3 separate regions of the Homo sapiens genome follow, and all the other regions are linked to region 2. Evidence: promoter capture Hi-C in human tissues and cell types (Jung and others, 2019). All regions are on one chromosome and are shown on one strand. The core of a region is centred on a gene start or on the middle of the fragment in contact, and the rest is flanking DNA. Distances in the headings are between cores, read along the strand shown. Region 1 has its middle 9.7 kb from the start of SS18. Region 2 holds the start of PSMA8 (proteasome 20S subunit alpha 8). Region 3 overlaps SS18 (SS18 subunit of BAF chromatin remodeling complex).

What was found. Contacts are between HindIII fragments. The study calls those that stand out against the background at their distance.
Region 1: a fragment that was not itself captured here is called in contact with the fragment with the promoter of PSMA8 in region 2 in 3 of the 25 tissues and cell types used here (H1 embryonic stem cells, spleen and stomach).
Region 3: a fragment that was not itself captured here is called in contact with the fragment with the promoter of PSMA8 in region 2 in 2 of the 25 tissues and cell types used here (pancreas and stomach).

The regions. Positions count from the first base shown.
Region 1 is chr18:26,098,988-26,101,687 of GRCh38, reverse strand. It overlaps the pseudogene RPS24P18. Among named protein-coding and RNA genes, the nearest start is that of SS18, 9.7 kb to the right of the region's middle. The HindIII fragment of the contact is 5,582 bases long and covers 1-2,700 here.
Region 2 is chr18:26,132,490-26,135,189 of GRCh38, reverse strand. PSMA8 (proteasome 20S subunit alpha 8) reads right to left here and starts at 1,321. Exons shown (of 7, transcript NM_001025096.2): 1 at 1,123-1,321. The coding sequence starts at 1,224. The HindIII fragment of the contact is 10,391 bases long and covers 1-2,700 here.
Region 3 is chr18:26,069,787-26,072,486 of GRCh38, reverse strand. The region is part of intron 3 of SS18 (SS18 subunit of BAF chromatin remodeling complex); the gene reads left to right. Among named protein-coding and RNA genes, the nearest start is that of SS18, 19 kb to the left of the region's middle. The HindIII fragment of the contact is 5,655 bases long and covers 1-2,700 here.

The DNA of each region.
Region 1 (2,700 bases), core at 53-2,552, 33 kb after region 2:
ATAATGGCTGTACTAATTTACATTTCCCTCAGCAGTGTGTAAGTTTCCTTTCTCCACATCTTTACCACAATTATCTTTTGTCTTTTTGAAAATAGCCATTCTAACTGGGGTGAGATAATATCTCACTGTGATTCTGATTTACATTTCTTCAGTGATTAGTGGAGTTGATCAATTGCGTGTATTCTTTTGAGAAATGCCTATCAGATCATTTGTTCATTTAAAAATTGGATTGTATTTGCTTTTTTGCTATTGAGTTCCTTATATATTCTGGTTATTAATCCCTTATCAGATGAATAGTTTGCAAATATTTTCTCCCATTCCTTAGGTTGACTCTTCACTCTTGATTGTTTTCTTTGCTGTGCAGAAGTTTTTTAGCTTGATATAATCCAATTTGTCTATTTTTGCTTTTGTTGCCTGTGTTTCAGGGGTCTTATCCAAAAAATCTTGGCCCGGCCGGGCGTGGTGGCTCATGCCTGTAATCCCAGCACTTTGGAAGGCTGAGGTGGGCGGATCATGAGGTCAGGAGTTTGAGACCAGCCTGGCAAACATGGTGAAACCCTGTCTCTACAAAAATTAGCTGGGCGTGGTGGTGCATGTACCAGTAATCCCAGGTACTTGGGAGGCTGAGGCAGGAGAATTGCTTGAACCTGGGAGGCGGAGGTTGCAGTGAGCCGAGATCATGCCACTGCAATGTAGCCTGGGTAACAGAGCAAGATTCTGTCTCAAAAAAAAAAAATTAAAAAAAAAATCTTGCCCAGATCAGTGTTCTGAAGCGTTCCCCAATGTTTTCTTCTAGTAGTTTCATGTCTTACATTTAACTCTTTAATCCATTTTGATTTGACTTTGTATATGGTGAGAGATTGGGGTCTAGTTTCATTTTGCATGTGGTTATCCCGTTTTCCTAGCACATTTTATTCAAGATAATGTCCTTTTCCCAATGTATGTTTTTGGCACCTTTGTTGAAAATGAGTTCACTGTAGATATGTGGATTTATTTCTGGCTTCTCTATTCTGTTCCATCGGTCTATGCATCTGTTTTTATGTTAGTACCATGTCTCTTTTTATGTTAGTACCATGTTGTTTTGGCTACTATAGCTTTGTATTAATAGTATATTTTGTATTAATAGTATTAATAATACATTTTGTATTAATAGTATATTTTGAAGTCAGATAGTGGGATGCCTCCAGCTTTGGTTTTCTTTCTTTCGTTTCTTTCTTTTGGTTTCTTTCTTTGGTTTTCTTTCTTTTCTTTTCTTTCAAAGCTTAAGATTGCTTTGAGTATTAAGGATCTTTTTGTGGTTTCATACAGTTTTTTTTCTATTTCTGTAAAGAATGTCACTGGTATTTTAATGGGGATTGCATTGAATCTATAGATCACTTTGGATAGTATGGACATTTTGACAGTATTAATTCTTCTAATTCATTAGCATGGAATATCTTTTCATTTTTTGGTGTTCTCTTCAATTTCTTTCATCAGTGTTTTACAGTTTTCTTTGTAGATTTTTTTACTTCTTTGCTTAAATTTATTCTTATATTTTGTTTTGTTTGGTAACTATTGTGAATGGGATTGTTTTCTTGATTTCTTTTTCAGATTGTTCACTGCATATATAAATGCTACTTTTTTGTATGTTGATTTTGTATCCTGCAACTTTACTGTATTCGATCTTATATGTTTCTAAATATAAAATCATGGTTCTGCAAACAAGTATAATTTGACTTTTTCCTTTCCAATTTGGATGCCCTGTCTTTCTTTCTCTTGTGTAACTGCTCTGGCTAGGGTTTCCAGTACTATCTTGAATAGGAGTAGTGGAAGTGGACATCCTTGTCTTTTTCCAGATTGTAGAGGAAAGGCTTTCAATTTTTCCCTGTTTAGTATGATGTTAGCTGCAGGTTGGTCATATATGGCCTTTATTGTTTTGAGGTATGTTTCTTCTATACCCAGTTTGTTGGGTTTTTTTTTTTTCATGAAGGAAGGGATGTTGAATTTTATCACATGCTTTTTTAGTATCTATTGAAATGATAATATGGTTTTTGTCTTTGTTCTGTTAATGTGATATATCACATTTATTGACTCATGTATGTTGAACCATACCTGCATCCCTGGCTAAATGAAGTTAACTTTTTCCTAATTATTTTTTCTGTTTCTCACACTATATAATCTCATTTGACATATCTGCAGTTTACTGATGTTTTTTCTTCTAGTTCTAATCTGCTTTTGAACCTTTCTCATGAATTTTTTATTTTAGATTTTGTGCATTTCAATGATTTTTTTGTTTTTTGTGGTTTTTAATAATATTTATCTTAATATTTTTGGGGGTGAGAAACATTGTTTTCATGTTTTTCTTTAATTCTTAAGTTTTTTTCAGTTTATTAATCCTTTTGTGAAAAATCTATGCAGTCAGCACAGATGAAGTCATTAGTCATTGCAGAATCCATACTCCTACTGTTACCCAATCTCTAGCTCACTTTTTGCTGGCACCATTGGCCTTTGCAGTCCACCTGACTTTCTTCATTCTGTTCTTGCATTTCTTTTGCTGTTTTCTTAAGGTCTTTTTCTTCTCATACAGGCCATGTCTTGTAAGTCTATATTTGCGTTCATTTTTCTTTGCATAATCCAAAGAATTATAAAATCATGCCAAAGCCAGTTGTCTTGCCACCACTAAAATAGGTTCTGAATCCAAATTCAAAGATGACATCCAGT
Region 2 (2,700 bases), core at 72-2,571:
AAATCACTAAAATTATTGAACGTAGTTAAAACTTGGCAGCAGTATTACTCCTACCCTGAGTATTTTTTAAGTTTTTCAGTAATGTGGATACATAAATCTAAGGTAGGGTGTAATCTCTCAAGGAACTTCCAGCATTATTTTTTAAGTGGCCAAAAAAGTGGAAGTTCTTGGACTTTTGAGCCTCTACAAGGCTGGGAAATATTGGGACAATTTTGGGATTTTTTTTTTTTTTCCCGAGACGGAGTTTCGCTTTTGTTGCCCAGGCTGGAGTGCAATGGCACGATCTCGGCTCACCGCAACCTCTGCCTCCCAGGTTCAAGCGATTCTCCCGCCTCAGCCTCCCGAGTAGCTGGGATTACAGGCATGCGCCACCACGCCTGGCTAATTTTGTATTTTTAGTAGAGACGGAGTTTCTCCATGTTGGTCAGGCTGGTCTCAAACTCCCGACCTCAGGTGATCCGCCCTCCTGGGCCTTCCAAAGTGCTGGGATTACAGGTGTGAGCCACTGCGCCCAGCAATTTTGGGATATTTTTAACGCGTGTGTTTGAACTGTGTTTTTAATCATTTCTTCATCAACAAAAGTTTAATTTTATATTGATTTAGTCCGTATTTGGGGAGCAGGTGTGGCCAACTTTTATTTTTTATTGTAACTGTTATTAAAAAACAGTTCCCAACATGAAGCAACTGTTAACTTTTCCAGGGGTCTCTGAACTACCAAGGAACTGGACCACGAGCGTTCAATAGGTAGGCTGTTACAGATTAGAAGCTTTCCCTATTGTCAATCACATCATTAACGTCCCTACACACACACACACACACACAGAGACACACACACACACACACACACACCCACACACACACCCTAGTTTTGCGTCTGTAGCTACCATGAAACAGAGGCAGTTGAACAGCAGAGATAGGGGAAATCTACTAACTTTTACTCTGCCCACTTCCGGCCCAAATCTAGAAGTCTGTCTCCCTAAATAAAAAGAACAAAGTAATTTTCACAAGTGTGGGAATCTCCTCTCTTGAGCTCCTAGGATGGAAAGGTGGGCTGGGGCAGCAGGGTAACGATGGCCTGACAGGTCAGAGCGGGGAATAGTCCGGTAATAGTTGCTTCCTCACCGCGGTGGATCCTTTCTTCACCGCTTCCTGGGCATATTCAACTTGAAAAAGGTGTCCGTCTGGGGAGAAGACAGTGATCGCCCTGTCATATCGAGACGCCATCGCACAGGACTACAAGGGCTTGCCACCGAGCTTCCCGCTGCTGCAGCTGAGGCAAGCGGGGAGCCGCCGCCAACACAGCGTGCTACCGCCCGGAAGCGCTTCCACACGCGCCTCAAGCTGCCTCCCGGAAGTCCCCGCGCCCGCGCTTCGGCTGCTTCACGGAAGTCCTTGCTCCTTTGGCTGCCTGCGGATGTCCTCGCGCTTGCCAGCCTTTGTCACCCAAGCAGTGCCTGTGAGTTGACGGCATTCTTCCCTTACCCTTCATGTCTGACGCATAGCGCATATCTCCATTTCCCCACTACCGTGTTGCCCCAGGGATGGTGTCACGGCACTCGAGTTATAAAAATAATATCAAAGATTAGGGCTTAAAAATGAGGTCTTCAAATATCAGATATTTTTGTTATCGCATACATGTTGGAGAAACTGTGGTAAGTTAAATATCAGTCCCTTCCCTTTGGTTTCAAATTCTAAATTTCCTACTTTTTCTTTCTCTCTCTCAGGTTAACTCTTGTTATTTGAACCGAAGGAAAGAAAGCAAACTTCAAAATATTGTTGCTTCTGATATTTTCTGCCTTGTGAGCAAAATAGAGCAGATGAGCAAATGGTCCGTTAAATAAAGCAAATAGTCCATCAAACTAAGCTAATGATGAGAATTAAGATAATGTTCTTTTTTTTGTTTTGTTTTGTTTTTTGTTTTTTGAGACGGAGTCTCGCTCTGTCGCCCAGGCTGGAGTGCAGTGGTGCAATCTCGGCTCACTGCAAGCTCCACCTCCCGGGTTCACGCCATTCTCCTGCCTCAGCCTCCGGAGCAGCTGGGACTACAGGCGCCCGCCACCACGCCCGGCTAATTTTTTATATTTTTAGTAGAGACTGGGTTTCACCGTGTTAGCCAGGATGGTCTTGATCTCCTGACCTCGTGATCCGCCTGCCTCGGCCTCCCAAAGTGCTGGGATTACAGGCGTGAGCCACCGCGCCCGGCCCAGATAATATTCTTTTAATTGGAGAAATTTTGTAAAAGCCCAAAGTATGAGACTTAAAAGATGTCTGGAAATTTAGCTATAGCAGAAACTCTTTACAACTTGCTACATTACTAACTATGAAACAACTCTGTCGCTTTCTCCTTATCAATAAAATGGGAATATTAAAAAATCTGCAGCAGAGTATTCTGAGCTTAATATGTGTTTATGGGCATAATTACATAAAATGGTGCCTGGTGGGCAGTAATAGCCAGGTAAGTTTAGCTATTATTGCTTTCCATGTGTTGTTTAATATATGCAGTTTTCCACTGGGGAGGATCTTAAAGTTGGTGAAATCAACTTTAACCAAAAAAAAGAAAAAAAGAATAATTTCCTCAAAAGAGGAAAAATTTGATTCCCTGAATTCCAAATACTTAAATCAGAATTTTAATTGACTTAAACAATTTATTTAATTATTAATACTTTTTTTTTTAACGTAGGGACTTGGTTTCCCTATGTT
Region 3 (2,700 bases), core at 15-2,514, 63 kb after region 2:
TCTACTTTATCTGATATTAGCATAGCTAAATAAGCTTTCTTTGGTGTTTGCATGGTATTATCCTCCTTTCTGTTTTCTTGTGTTAGAGATAACGATATTATGAGTAGGATGTAGATTTTTTTTTTTTTTTTTAACTCAGTCTAGCAATCAAAGTGCTGGGATTACAGGTGTGAGCCACTGTGCCCGGCCAATAATTAATTTGTTTTTTATTATTCCTTTTTTTTCTTTCTAGTTGGGAAATCTTACATATTTACTATTCTTTTAGTGGTTACTGTATAGATTATAATATACATCCCAATCAAAGGACCATAAAATACTTCATTTCTGTTCCTTCCCTCAATGACCTTTTCGTTGTTGTTGTAATGTATTTTAAGTCTCTATATGTTTCCACAAGTGGTTGTTATTACTGTCTTTTTTTTGAAGTCAGTGTTCATTAGATCATCCACATAGTTACTTACCATTTCTGATGCTTTCTGTTCCTCCTTTCATTTATGACCTTCTAGCTTAGATCACTTTTTTTTTCACCTCCTAAAGAACATTCCTTAGTATTTCCTTTAGCACTGCTTTGCTGGTGAGACATACCTTCAGTATTTTTGTTTTGTTTTGGTCTGGGTCTGAAAATGCCTTTATTTCACCATCATTCTTTTTTTTTTCCTCTGGAGACAGTGTTTCACTCCGTCACCCAGGCCAGAGCATAGGGGCATGATCATAGCTCACTGCAGCTTCGAACTTTTGGGCTCAAGAAATCTTCCTGCCATAGCCTCCTGAGAAGCTAGGACCACAGGCATACACCATCATGCCTGGCTGATTTTTGTATTTTTTGGAGAAATGGGGTCTTATATCGCCCGGGCTAGTCTTAAACTCCTGGCCTCGAGTGATTCTCCTGCCTTGGCCTCCCAAAGTTCTGGGATTGTAGGCATGAGCCACCACACCTGGCTCACCATGATTCTTAGAAGATATTTTCCAAGGACAGATACTAGGTTAGTTGTTGTTTACTTAGCACATTACATTTATCCTTGCGTTGTTTTCTGTCTTGTATCTATTGAAAATTCAGATATCAATGTAATTGTTGATATTTTGAACATAATCTGCTTATTTGACTGCATTTAAGAGTTTTGCTTTGTCTAGGATTTTTAGTGGTTTTAGTATGTTTAGGTGTGGATTTCTGTTTTCTTAAATTTATTTTTTCTCACACTGTAGTTAGATATTGGAAGATTTCTTTCTAATTATCTTGCTTGGTGCCTGTTGGGATTTCTGACATCTGTAGGTTCATGTCTTTCATCAGTTTTGGGAGTTTTCAGTCATTATCTCTTCAAGCAAATAATTCTTCCATAAGACTCCAGTTAAACTTAGACTAGACCTTGTAACTGTATCTTTATGTTTCTTAATCCCTTCAGACTTTTCCAACCATTTATCATTCTAAGTATATTTTTTTCTGACCAGTTTTCCAGTTCATTTTTCACTGGGCCTAATCTGTTATACCTATCCCTTGAGTTCCTAATATATATTTTTCTATTTCTAGAATTTCTATAAGTTCTTTTTTAGATCTGCTCTGGCATTTTAAAAATATTTTCTGCTCTTTGCTGAGAGGATGTTACTAACTATAGTTTGAGATACTTGAGTCTGAAAAAACTATTATGTTTTAGGATGATTTTACTTAAGTTTTCTAGAATGGGGTTTTTCACTTCATTTCAGTTGAATGGGGTGGGAATTAGAAATGTGTTCATAATTATATATAAGTTTAACTTTCAGTTTTTTCCCATGTCATCTCAAGAGAAGAATTATTTATTTATAGTTCTATTTCGTGTGTTTGGAACTGGCCAAGATCGAGCACTAGCTAGAATCTAAAAGTCAAGAATCTAAACACTGAGAATAAAAGGAGAAAAATAACTTCTAATGCCAGTGCACTAACACTTAGGCATTTTACTTCTTAGTTTCAGCCTTGTGTCTTTTTTCTTAATGCCAAAGCATTATAACTTTATAAGGGAACTACTCTTCACCTTACACATATTTTAACAGACTTGTTTTCTTAATTTTAAGCCAGGAGACAGCAAATAGCAAAAATGGGAGAAGTTGTTCTATAAGCAGACATATATACATGCAGTGTTACCTGACAGCCAAGATGGCATAGAAATAGACATAAAATTTATAAAAAGCTGACAATTCAAAATGTGCACTACTCTGGCTCCATTTAGTGTAGATAGATAGGGCCCTATCTTGGTAAACCTTGCAGGCATCATTTAAATGTTGGTTCTCAGTTGGTGTTTACTTTCTGAAACAACAAACTATTGACATACTTATTTTCATAATTAGGAACCATTTTTAATTTATTTTTATAGGTTTGTGGGTACAAGTGCAGTTTTGTTACGTGGATTTCTTGTGTGGTGGTGAAGGCTGAGCTTTTAGTGTACCCATTACCCCCAGTAAGGAACACTGTACCCAATAGGTCATTTTTCAATCCTCATCCCCTCCCCGCACCTAGGAACAATTTTACCAGTAGAAAGTGTGACTATTTTTTTGTGTATGCAGATTTTTCCTTCTCAAACATACTTTGAAGAAATGGCATTTCTATGTTTTAATTTCATATTAGTTACTGTTAATTTATTTTTTATCATCTGCTAGTATTAGCATATACAAAGTGGTAGGCACCATTTGTTTAGAAAAGAATTATGAGAGAACAATTTCATTCAAGAAAAGTTT